Linked DNA regions of Homo sapiens: regions 2 and 3 are each linked to region 1. The links are contacts of gene promoters, found by promoter capture Hi-C in human tissues and cell types (Jung and others, 2019). All regions are on one chromosome and are shown on one strand. The core of a region is centred on a gene start or on the middle of the fragment in contact, and the rest is flanking DNA. Distances in the headings are between cores, read along the strand shown. Region 1 holds the start of TRIM71 (tripartite motif containing 71). Region 2 overlaps TRIM71 (tripartite motif containing 71). Region 3 overlaps TRIM71 (tripartite motif containing 71).

The links. Contacts are between HindIII fragments. The study calls those that stand out against the background at their distance.
Region 2: a contact is called between a fragment that was not itself captured here and the fragment with the promoter of TRIM71 in region 1, in 1 of the 25 tissues and cell types used here (ovary).
Region 3: a contact is called between a fragment that was not itself captured here and the fragment with the promoter of TRIM71 in region 1, in 1 of the 25 tissues and cell types used here (bladder).

The regions. Positions count from the first base shown.
Region 1 is chr3:32,816,460-32,820,345 of GRCh38, reverse strand. TRIM71 (tripartite motif containing 71) reads right to left here and starts at 2,349. Exons shown (of 4, transcript NM_001039111.3): 1 at 1,414-2,349. The coding sequence starts at 2,265. RefSeq lists an enhancer at 1,308-1,889. The HindIII fragment of the contact is 18,479 bases long and covers 1-3,886 here.
Region 2 is chr3:32,860,110-32,863,985 of GRCh38, reverse strand. The region is part of intron 1 of TRIM71 (tripartite motif containing 71); the gene reads right to left. Among named protein-coding and RNA genes, the nearest start is that of TRIM71, 44 kb to the right of the region's middle. RefSeq lists an enhancer at 2,567-3,171. The HindIII fragment of the contact is 7,233 bases long and covers 1-3,876 here.
Region 3 is chr3:32,880,391-32,884,502 of GRCh38, reverse strand. All of the region lies in intron 2 of TRIM71 (tripartite motif containing 71), which reads right to left. Among named protein-coding and RNA genes, the nearest start is that of TRIM71, 64 kb to the right of the region's middle. The HindIII fragment of the contact is 5,549 bases long and covers 1-4,112 here.

The DNA.
Region 1 (3,886 bases), core at 1,100-3,599:
AGATTAGAATTTCAACTTTTTTCCAACAGGAGAAGCCAGCTAAAGGCCATCAGGCAATAGCTCCGCCCTCCTCCCCAAATAACAGGTTAGGAGTGGAAAAGGCAGCGGCGCTGGGCTCACCTTTGCGGTGCTCGGTACCCACTCTCCAGCTCACACAGGCCACGACCCCCACTATGGCTTTTAAAGCCTCTGCAGTCTCCAGCTTACGCTCTAAGTCAAGACTTTCACCCACACCCTCTCTTACCGGTCTACAGGTAGATCGCCTAAGTTACCGACCCCCTCGGCAAGAGCCCGCTTCTCAAGACTTTTGGCCTGCCTTCATTGGGTTCGGGGGAGAAGACGACACTCGCATAATACCAAAGTGGAAAGGAGAAAGGGGTCACACTGTGTGAAAAGCAAATGTTTACTCGACAGCCCAAAGGGCGAAATCGAGCCCGAGGGTTGCAATGTAGCCCTAAAAGCCTTTGCACTCCGGCGTTCCAGCAGCGTACGGCTGCCTTGGTCTTTTCCAAGGAAGTCGAGACCCTGGTTGAGCCGGGTGGATACCTCCTAACCAGGGAAACCGGTTCCTGTAGGGCTTGGAGTCGGGGCAGGCGGGCGCGGCCCAAGAGACTCAGGCTGGTGAAGGTAACGTCGTCCCTTTATTCCGCTTCTATCTCGGGGTGCAGCCGTGGGCCCACGAACGGCGATTTCACGCTAGGAGAATTCAGGGGCCAGAACACGCATTTTAAACAATATAGGAAGCAGCCGCAGAGAGAGAAGGGCTTAAGACTGGGGGCCCTTGGCCCTCAAAGATCCACAGACGCTCCCACTCTTACCCAACATAAGGAGGCAAGGACTGCCATGCTGTCCCAACAACAAAAAAACCAGTCTTCCCCTCACAAGTGCGCACGTGGAAACCAGGTCTACGGAGGCACACAAACTCCACGCACTCACCCACACAACCATCTCTTCCGGGCTCACGCCCCATTTTAAAGGCAACAATCTATGAGTTTTCCAAACAAAAATCTGAAAATAAAGGAGCGCCTTCTCAGCACGTTGGGAGGCCTCTGGTGTGCCCACAAGAGCAGGAGCAGGCCACGTCTACACAAACACACACACCTATCTCCTCCCAACTCACGCCTAACTCAAGACGATTGCCGCGTTTTGCCACACAGAAATTAAAATCAGAAAAGGGAGGACCCCACGCTATGGGATTTTTCGGAGCCCCTCGCGACACGTACACAGAATCCACTTCCACATACTTCCCAGGTCATGATCTACTTTGGTAGCAAGGACTGCCACGTAGCCAAAGGAAATACAAACCAAATCCGGAGAGGGCCTCCTCCCCTCGCTGTGGGACCGGCCGGGAAACGCTGTTGAGCACACACGCAGTTATCCGATGGACACAAACACACGCCCCCACGCACTCACCTCGTCGTCGTGGTGCTGGCAGAAGCCGAGGCGCTCGGGAAACACTGAGAGGATGGAGAAGGGCGGGCCGGGAAAGGGCGGCCCGAGCCCGAGCTGCTGCGCCGCTGCTGCGGCACCGGGACCCGGCGGGCCGCGCTCGATGTAGTGGTCCTTGGTGAGGCGCACGCGCTGGTGCGCTCGGACGCAGTTGTCGCACAGGTGCTCCTGGCAGTCGAGGCAGCGCGAAGAAGCTGCGTTGCCCTCATCGCACGAGCTGCAGCCGTGAGGACGGCGGAGCAGCAGCGCCGACGGGGAAGCGGCAGGGCCGCCGGGTGCCGAGCGGGAAGGCGCGGGCGGCTGCGGCGCCTGCGGGAGTGGCGGCGCGGAGGCGGACGCGCGCGGGTGCGCGTGGTGAGCGTGGTGCCGGTGGTTGCTGTGGCCGCCCGCTCCCGCCGGAGCGCCGGCGCGCCCGTTCTTGGGCGGCGGCTCGTCGGCAGTGGCCACCACCGCGTCGAGCAGGTTGCTAAGCAGGAAGGCGGACGAAGGCAGCGCGTCCATACCCGCCGCCTCGGCTAGCACTACTTTCTGGTCGCACACGGGGCAGCGCAGCTTGAGCGGCTCTCCCGCCGCGCCGCCGCCCGCCGCCGGCAGCCGGTGCGCCTCGAGGCAGGGGCGGCAGAAGGCGTGCAGGCAGGGCAGGACGTGTAGGCGGCGCGCCGCCGCCCCAGGGCCCCCGCCGCCGCCCCCCGACGACGTGGACGTCTGCGAGGAGGACGACGACGCGGACGAGTTGGAGGAGAGCGGCGCCGGCGAGCCGCACATCTCCTTGCACAGCAAGCAGATCTGGAAATCGGTCTCGGGGAACGAAGCCATTTGCAACCCAGCCCGGAGGAGGGAGGAGACCAGAGAGGAAGAGGAGGAGGAGGAGGAGAGAGCGGACGAGGTGGGTGGGGGAGTCACCGACTCACTCAGAAAAATGCATCGATTAGGCCTGCAATCCGGGAGCCGGCACCAGAGCAGCGCTGCCCGCTTGGCCTCGCCACGTCCGGCCCGAGCGCTGCCACCCCCGACACTGCAGGCATTAAATGCCACTATCCAGCGGCGACACAGATTCCTCCGGATAACTTGGGGGCCGCGTGCCTTCCGAAGAGGGAACGCCGGAACAAGCCCCGACAGGCGAGGGGCGAGCGGGGGCAGGGAGGTCGGAAGACTCCCTGGAGCAGCTGAGGCTTCCCTTCGCGATAGACGAAAGGAGTTCCCAAAAGGAGAGTTCGCTGTGCAGTCCCAGTCCCGGCGAGAGCAGAATTTGGTTCCACGAGTATTTGGTGCGTTGCTTTTCTTTAAACGGATTTAGTCTGTTCTTGGGAGGGGAAGGAGCCCCAAACTAGTAAAGGCGGGAGCGGTGCGTCGCCAAGCCGGTGTCTCCCCGCGCGACGTCGGCTGCCCCGCCGCATGACGCGGCGGCCAGGGGCTCCTGGGTGGCCCGGCGTGCTGCGCTTGGGGCTTGCGCACAGCCAGGCACGGCCTCCCCTGCAGGGCGGTGGGCCCCGCAGCAGCTGCAGCTCGTGGTGGCCCAGCCGCGGCCGCACGCGTGCAGTACGCACGCGCGTCCCACGCGCCTCGAGTCTTCCGCGCGCCTGCCCAGCCGGGCCGCGGCTGCCCGCGCTTAACACGCACGCGCGCCCCACGCGGCCCGGAGCCCTCGTGCCCCCGCCTCGCCTGGCCTGGGCGCCTCACGCACGCTCCTTCCCCTTCGGCTTAGCGCGCGGGGCCGCAGGTCCCCGCGGGCCGCCCTGAATTATTCATCGGCAGGAAGATATTAGATGTACCCGCTCCGCGCGGGCCGTCGTGCAATGCTATCCGAGCTCCGCGCGCGCCCTGCGCCCCTCCTCCTCCTCACGTCCGTCCTCTCTGAAACCTTGGCAGAGAAGGGGGATCACATTTCCTTTGTCATCGGGCCATTTCGCCCTCGCCTTGGTCCCCCCTCCGATCCCGAGCCTCGGGGATGGAGGCTCCTCTCGGGCGCGCTGGAATCAGTGGAACCGGCAACAGCCCCGCGCGGCGAGCTCGGGAGCCGCGTGGCCAACGCCGCCGGCTCGCGCCCGCGTCATCTTCTTTCTGAAAGGAGTCGCCGATCCGGACGCGGGTGGCCTCGGCCGCGCTGCGCCTACCGAGCTTTGCTCCCGCCGTGCCCCGGCCTCCTGGGGCTTTGCACAACTCCCCCAGTTCGGGTTGCGTGCGCGCGCGCGCGCCCCCTCTTTCTCTGCTTTGCCGCCTCTGCCTCCTCCTCCTCCTCCTCTTCTCTTCAGTACGCCGGTTATTGGGACTGATCGGAATTCGGAATCCTTTTAATCTCCAAAGGAGCAAACTCACTTCCGCCCGAGTGCTGGGAGGGGGCTGGGGGAGGGGAGGCAGGGGAGGGGGCTCCAGGCAAACAGGAAACATTAGCCCTCTCAGCACGGCCCGCTTTTGTGTGCTCCCTCCCTCCGCCCTC
Region 2 (3,876 bases), core at 373-2,872, 44 kb before region 1:
GAAGTTCAGGCGTGGTGGCTCATGCCTGTAATCCCAGCACTTTTGAGAGGCCGAGGCGGGTGGACCATTTTTAGTCAGGAGTTTGAGACCAGCCTGGCCAACATAGTGAAACCCCATCTCTACTAAAAATACAAAAGTTAGCCAGGCCTGGTGGTGGGCACCTGTGGTTCCAGCTACTCAAGAAGCTGAGGCAGGAGAATTGCTTGAACCCGGGAGGCAGAGGCTGCAGTGAGCCAAGATCTCACCACTGCACTCCAGCCTGGGTGACAGAGGAGACTCCGTCTCAAAAAAACAAAAACAAAAACAAATAAATAAATATACCTACATACAAGAAGCTTAAAGGCACTAAGACTGGTGAAAAAGCTAAAATCAAGAGAATATATTGCATAACTCCATTTATTAATATATGAAGATAAAACTCAACGTGGAAGAAAACAACAGTAGTTGCAGGTGAGAACGAGGGTGAACTAGAGGGACCCCAAGGGAATCCTTCTGGAATTAGAGAAAATCTATATCTTGATGCGAGGATTGATTACACAGGTATATATAAATCATCAAAAGTCAAAATGTACACTTAGCCCGGCCAACAAAGACCCTGTCTCTACAAAAGAATTAAAAATTAACCAAGCATGGTGGGGCATGCCTATAGTCACAGCTGAGGCAGAAGGATGGCTTGATGAGCCCAAGAGTTCGAGGCTGCTGTGAGCCATGTATGCACCACCGCAGTCAGCCTGGCTCAAGCCAGACACAGCAAGACCAGCTCCAAAAAAAAAAAAAAAAAAAAAAAAAAGGTTCAATTAATACTCCTCCCTCCCAAAAGTGAGGGGAGAATCCTTCCACTGACAACCTAAGTTGTTGAGGGGGTGATGCTTGGAGCTTGGCCACAGCGCAGCACTCTTCATAGCTAAGGACCTAATAAAATACTCATGGAGCCCATAAATGAGTTAACTCCAATGGCCCCACATAATTTACTTCTAATAGGTTGCTACCATTTTTTCCACAATGTTCCCATTAGGTATTATTTTTCCTCTGCCCTCTACTATAAATATTATCTTAAGTTATATCTCGCAAGAGGCAACCTCCCTGGAGGTTTTGAAAAAATTAGAACCCTGAGTCCCGATTTACAGCACCACAGGCGGCCAGCGGTCATACAAAGCCATATGAAATCATTAGTGTCCCAGCTGCCGCCCCGGCATGCATCTGACCTCTGATGTATTAATGAGTGGCCCATGCAGCTTCCAGCAGCAAATAAAAGAGATTTGTTCCAACACTGAGATCACTGCCCATGTAAATTATATATTTTTAAACTGGACACGAAAGACAGATTTGGACGTAGACACACAAGTTTTCCAGCTGCCTCCAAGGTTGCAAAAGCAAGGCAAGGTTTTAATCTGTTGTGCTATGGACAAGAGTCAGTGGTACTTTGGGGCTGACATTTAAAAAATGGTCAGACTCTGTAGGTGGCCATGTAACTCAGTCCTCGCCTCTTAAACAGCGGGCAACAGTGTACACCTGAAACCCTTTCAGTTCCTAAAGAAGCCAAGTAGGTTTCAATCACCCATGTGGCTGAGATGGTGTAGAAAGGCAGAATTTTTTAAAGCAAGGGAAGGCACTCATCACCTGGGTAAAACTGTCCTGAGAAGAGAAGCAGAAATACAGACTCAGATGAGAATACACTAGTAATAAAAACTGTTAGTAAATATTACTAGTCACATTTTCTACCTTTAACACAACCGAGCACTTCCCTCCTCTCTGCAAGTTCCATCATCTTGTGTCCTTGTCCCCTGCATTACTTAGTTGCCTTCTGTCTTGATTAGGGTTAGTGAATCAAGGTTACACTGTCCTATTGGTTGATAAGGCCTAGAGCCAGTTACCTTTCTAGGCAATGCCTCCCACCTGCTCCCCTCCTCCCCCAAAAATCAAGCAGTTAAGATATTACTATAGAAATTTTGTTTTAATACAGAGTTGTTCACAGGCAGTAATTATTTTAAATTGGGAAGTGACCAATCCTGGGAAGCAGTGGATAGCACACACGTGGCCTCTGTGAATTCTCTGAATGCCAAGAAGTACCCGTGCTGCACTGGGATTGCCGAGGCTCAGGTGGGGTGTGGGGGTGTGGAAGAGTGGGTGCTGGGGCATGTCTGTGAATTACGGAGATTTGTCTCCAAGTCCCAAGTCTGGGCTCTTCTATGGCATTCCCCAAAACTGCACCTGTCAAGGAGAGTATTAAAGAGAGAAGCCAGACACACTCTCCCAGTACCTCATCTTCCCCCCGACATTCCAGCAATTACAAGAGCCTTTCTTGACATCTTTCTCTGTAAGTAAAAGGCAAAATGAGCGAGAGCAGAGCAAACATCTTCAGTGCAAAAGCAGGTGAAAGAGGGATGCTTAGTCTTATAAAGAAAATGATTTTTATTTTTTTGTAGAGACAGGAACTCACTTTGTTGCCCAGGCTGGTCTTGAACTCCGGAGTGTTCCTCCCACCTTGGCCTGCCGAGGTGTTTGGATTACAGGCGTGAGCCACCGCGCCTGGCCAACAATTTATTTATTTATTGGCTGGGCACGGTGGCTCATGCCTGTAATCCCAGCACTTTGGGAGGCCAAGGTAGGTGGATCACCTGAGGCCAGGAGTTCGAGACCAGCCTGGCCAACATTGTGAAGCATGCCTGTAATCCCAGCTACTCAGGAGGCTGAGGCAGGAGAATTGCTTGAACCTGGAGGCGGAGGTTGCAGTGAGCCGAGATCGTGCCACTGCACTCTGGCCTGGGCAACAGAGACTCCATCTCAAGAAAAAAAAAAAGATTATTTACTTTATTTTATTGAGACAGTCTTGCTCTGGCTGGAGTACAATGACACGATCTCAACTCACTGCAACCTCTGCCTCCCGGGATCAAGCGATTCTCCTGCCTCAGCCTCCAGAGTAGCTGGGACTACAGGCACGTGCCACAACACCTGGCTAATTTTTGAATTTTCAGTAGAGATGGGGTTTCAGCATGTTGGCCAGGCTGGTCTCAAACTCCTGCACTCAAGCGATCTGCCTGCCTCGGCCTCCCAAAGTGCTGGGATTACAGGCATGAGCCACCGCGCCCAGCCCCACGATTTATTTTTAAAAACCCTTTTCAAGTTAGTGTTTGTAGCCTCTACTCCAAAAGTGGGAAACCTACCCTGCAGACACCTCTACAAATGTCAAAGGGGCAACAGGCCAGCCACGCAGAGCCCAGGCCAGGCCAGGCAGCCTGCTTTAGGAGCTTCTGAGATGGAAGCTACCTATCTGTCCCCTACACAGGGGAGTAACCTGAGGAAGGTGGGCCCCACGGCTGTGATCTAGGCAGTTACTGGGCAGGTTAAGAGTCGTCCCACCTCCCCAAGAGAAACTCCAAACTGTAGAGAGCAATGGTGATCTTCTCTTACCAACCATCAATAATCTAGAGGGTCCTGGGTAGAGCAATGAGGAGAGTAGGGCAACTGAAATGAGGCATAAAAGGCAAAATACCTCAAATTTAAAGGCCTTTTTAAAGAAAGGTGTGAGGGGTCAGGTGCAGTAGCTCACGTCTGTAATCCCAGCACTTTGGGAGTCCGAGGCAGGTGGATCACCTGAGGTCAGGAGTTCGAGACCGGCCTGGCCACAGCGAAACCCTGTATCTATTAAAAATACAAAATATAGCTGGGCGTGGTGGTGGGCGCCTGTAATCCCAACTACTTGGGAGGCTGAGGCAGGAGAATTGCTTGAACCCGGGAAGTGGAGGTTGCAGTGAGCAGAGATCGCACCATTGCACTCCAGCCTGGTTGACAAGAGTGAAATTCCATCAGAGAGGGAAGGGGAGGAGAGGGGAGGGGAGAGGGGAGGGAAGAGGGGAGGGGAGGAGAGGAGAGGGA
Region 3 (4,112 bases), core at 1,346-3,845, 64 kb before region 1:
TGGTCTCGAACTCCTGGGCTCAAGTGATCTGCCCACCTAGGCCTCCAAAAGTGCTGGCATTATAGGCATGAGCCACTGCGCCTGGCCTGTTCTGGGTATTTCATATAGATGGCATCATCATACAATACACGATCTACCTTATTTTTATGAATATTCTTCCTGCCCAACAGTTTGACTTGCTCTGGATGACAGCTGACACATTCATGGCATGCAAGACACGCTCAAAGGTGCAGCCCCAAAAACACCCATGGAAGCCAGGCACAGAGGCTAATGCCTGTAATCCCAGCACTTTGGGAGGCCGAGGCAGGCAAATCACTTGGGCTCAGGAGTTTAAGACCAGCCTGGCCAACATGGTGAAACCTGGTCTTTATTTAAACAAAACAAAACAAAAAAGCACACCACCCGTGACTCCAGTGGTTAGGTGCCACACTGCATTCTCTGCCTAAGAGGATCCTGTGTGACCTAAGGATCCACTGAGCTGATTCACAGGGGAACTGGGTAGATCCAGAGGGCTCACAGGATATCCACAGCCTGGAATGCTTCACCCTAAATTTCCAAACCCAGTTCTGATGCCACTTCCCTTCTGAAGCTGGAAGGGAACAGCACATTTCTGTAATGTTTCTGCTCCACCTTTACAATCCTGTCTCAAGTACCATTACATATCAAAGCAGGAGCTAAGTACAAAGCCCATGATACTTAAGCCACCTGGGATTTAGCAGAACAATTAGCAGAACAATCTATAAATTTTATATTTGCACATCTCTAGCCATAACCATGTTTACCAAAGCACTAGGTAGCTGTGTTGGGTTAAATATTGTCCCTCCAAACATCAGGCTCAACTAAATGTGGGCCAGGATGTGACCTTGTGTGGAAATAGGGTCTTTGTAGATATAATTAGCTAAGATGAGGTTATAGTAGATTAAGTTGAATCTTAAATCCCAAAACTGATGTTCACAGAGGGTCATGTGCAGACACAGATACAGAGAACAAAGCCACGTGAAGACCAAAGCAGAAACGGAAACTGATGCAGGTACAAGCCAAGGATGCTGGCAACTGCCAAAAGCCAGGATGAGGAAAGCAATGAGTCTTCCTGAGGGCCTTCAGAGGGAGCATGGTCCCGACACCTTGATCTTGGCCTTCTGGCCTGCTGTTTTAAGTAATCCAGTTTATGGTAAATTGTTACAACAGACCCGATAAACTAATACAGAAGCCAATAAAGTGAAGCAGACAGATATTACATCCACATTACCTAAAAGTTAAAAAATCAGAATGGCCAAGCAAATGAGCATGCATATAAGCAGGTATCATAATAGCATTGATACATTTTTAGTATCTCACGCTGTCAGGATTCATCCAGGGAAAAAGAGAGAAAGCGAGAGAGAGCAAGAGAGCTCCCTAGACATTTAAACAGAATTTAGCATAGGGAAATGGTTAAACAGGTATGGGAGAACTGCTGGGGCAAAGAGCACACTGAGGCAGAGAGTACCTGCAGAAGCAGCTTCTTCTGCTTTGTCTGAGAGAACAAAGGAAAGAAAGCTGTGGTTACAAGAACCCAGAATAAGATGGTGAGGTTACATCCAGCTAATTCTGAGAGTGGCAAGATCTGAAATTGAAACCAACTTCTGCTGTCAGGGTGAAAAAGAATTGCTATTAAAAATTGGGGCCGGGTACGGTGGCTCACACCTGTAATCCCAGCACTCTGGGAGGCAGAGGCAGGAGGATAGCTTAAGCCCACGAGTTTGAGATCAGCCTGGCCAAGAGTGAGACCCCGTCTCTACAAAAAAATAAATTAGCCAGGCATGGTGGCGCTTGTGTATAGTCCCATCTACTTGGGAGGCTGAGCTGGAAGGATTGCTTGAGTCTTGGGAGATCGAAGCTGCAGCAAGCTGTGACTGCACCACCGCGCCCCCCAGCCTGGGTGACAGAGCAAGACTCTGTCTCAAAACAAATATATAATATGATAATAATATAAGTAATATGAATTGGAAGAAAAAGGGAAGAAGTCCTTTTCCCATACATGTAGTTTGAAGAGTCACAGCCCCAGTGTCACATGGCAAGAGTGTGACAGGGTTAGAGCCCAAAGAGTAGAACTTAGTAACCGGCACCCTCTATATTTTTAGATGTGTTGGTTATTAATTAGCACAACTGGTGTCCAAGCTAATATTTCACCAAGGCAACCAAACCTATGTCTGTAACATTTCTTAATCCTTCCTCAATAGAAAGCAGAGGTGGCAAACTGCTTTCTATTAATATTAATGTCATACTACTTGCCAAATTGATTTTTTTACATCTAACTTCTATCATATGTTAGAAGAAAAAAAAAGACCCAGCCTGGGCTACAAGAGCAAAACTCTGTCTCAAAAAATAAAAAAACAAAAACACCACTCCCTTTGCATAGGAATGGGTGTACTACCCTACTCACCTCTTCCCCTAGTCTCCTAGCCAGGCTTATCGCTTATCCCTCATGTCTGGAACTCACATTTTATGACAAAAATTGCTTCTTCCATTTTTCAAACAGGTTCAAAGGGGGATTCAAAGCTTTTGTTGCAATTTTAATAATCAGCAAGCATGCAAAGATATTCCTTGGGCTGAGAGTCACAAAAGCCCTACCCAATGCATAGTGGAAAAATAGGTCTTTCCCTTCCAAATTACGCACGACCCAGCCAAGCATGGCATTCCAAGATGTGCAGACCAGGACTTATTGAACTAGTTCCCAACCTCTAACAGCAGGGCATCTGAAGGACATACAGGGCAGATAGGTTGGGGGAAATGACAATGTAGAAAGGCTGGGTAAACTTCCAAAACAGATATATACATTTCACAGTAAGAAAAGAGAAATCACCCAACAAGCATGGTGCTTGAGAGAAAATTTAACCATCTTTGGGATGTTAACAGATCTAATTAAACATTTAAAAGTTGAGGGTCTACATTTGGACTGGCAAATCAGTGCACTTTCCAGCTGACTACTGAGTGGCAGTCAGTCAGCATGGTGGAGACTTGGGCCAAATCTGGCTCTCAAGGGAAAGAATATAGATATCGATCAGTGATGCCAACTGTGGAGAACAGTGGTATTTAAAGAGCCCAACGGTCAGAAGGTAAGAGAATGCAATCATCACCCATACACTTGTAGGCGACCATACTGGGTATGCGGAGCTACTGTGGTGCACTCTAAAATGTAATTTTTGGCCAGGCGCAGTGGCTCATGCCTGTAATCCCAACACTCTTGGGAGGCTGAGGCAGGTGGACTGCCTGAGGTCAGGAGTTGAGACTAGCCTGGCCAACATGGTGAAACCCCGTCTCTACTGAAGATACCAAAATTAGCCAGGTGTGGTGACGGGTACCTGTAATCCCAACTACTCAGGAGGCTGAGGCAGGAAAATCACTTGAACCCGGGAGGCAGAAGTTGCAGTGAGCCAAAATCGTGGCACTGAACTCCAGCCTGGGCAACAGAGTGAGACTCCACCTCAAAAAAATATATATATATACATATATAAAATTTTCATCACATCTTTCTCTGAATCTATAATTCATCTCTAAATTGTCCGTGGGTTTCTTCCTTTGTTAGTTGTATGTAAAATAAATGTACACCTTACAATTAATGGCATCTTAAATGTGATGAAATATAGTAATTGAAGAATCAAAACTTTCTTATGTAGAAACCAACTATTCCTGATCCTGTTTATCGCTATCCCCAGCAAATCAGTTTACCTTGTGGAATCCTCTAATAACATACATGACCAAAATGTCATATATTCAAGAAAAGCAGCAAAGTGAAAGTAACAGAATGTTCAAAAAAGCAATAAAAATGAGTGGTTGCCCCCTAAATGCCCTACAACAGTGATGAGGTGCTACATCTTCCATGCTGTTCTTGTTATGGCCAACTCTAGACACTCACCAGGGTAGATTCTCTTTATAGGACAATCCAGAATTAACTCAAGGATTTGTATCTGGAGCTCTTTCCAGAACCAAGACTCTCAGGACAAGTTGTGAGTCTCTTTAAAGTCATAAGTTAGGAACTCTGATTCACAGTTAACTGAACATCTGACATCTGCAATTTAATACCAGACATTCAATGGGGAAATATACTTTCAGTATACATATCCTCCTCATCT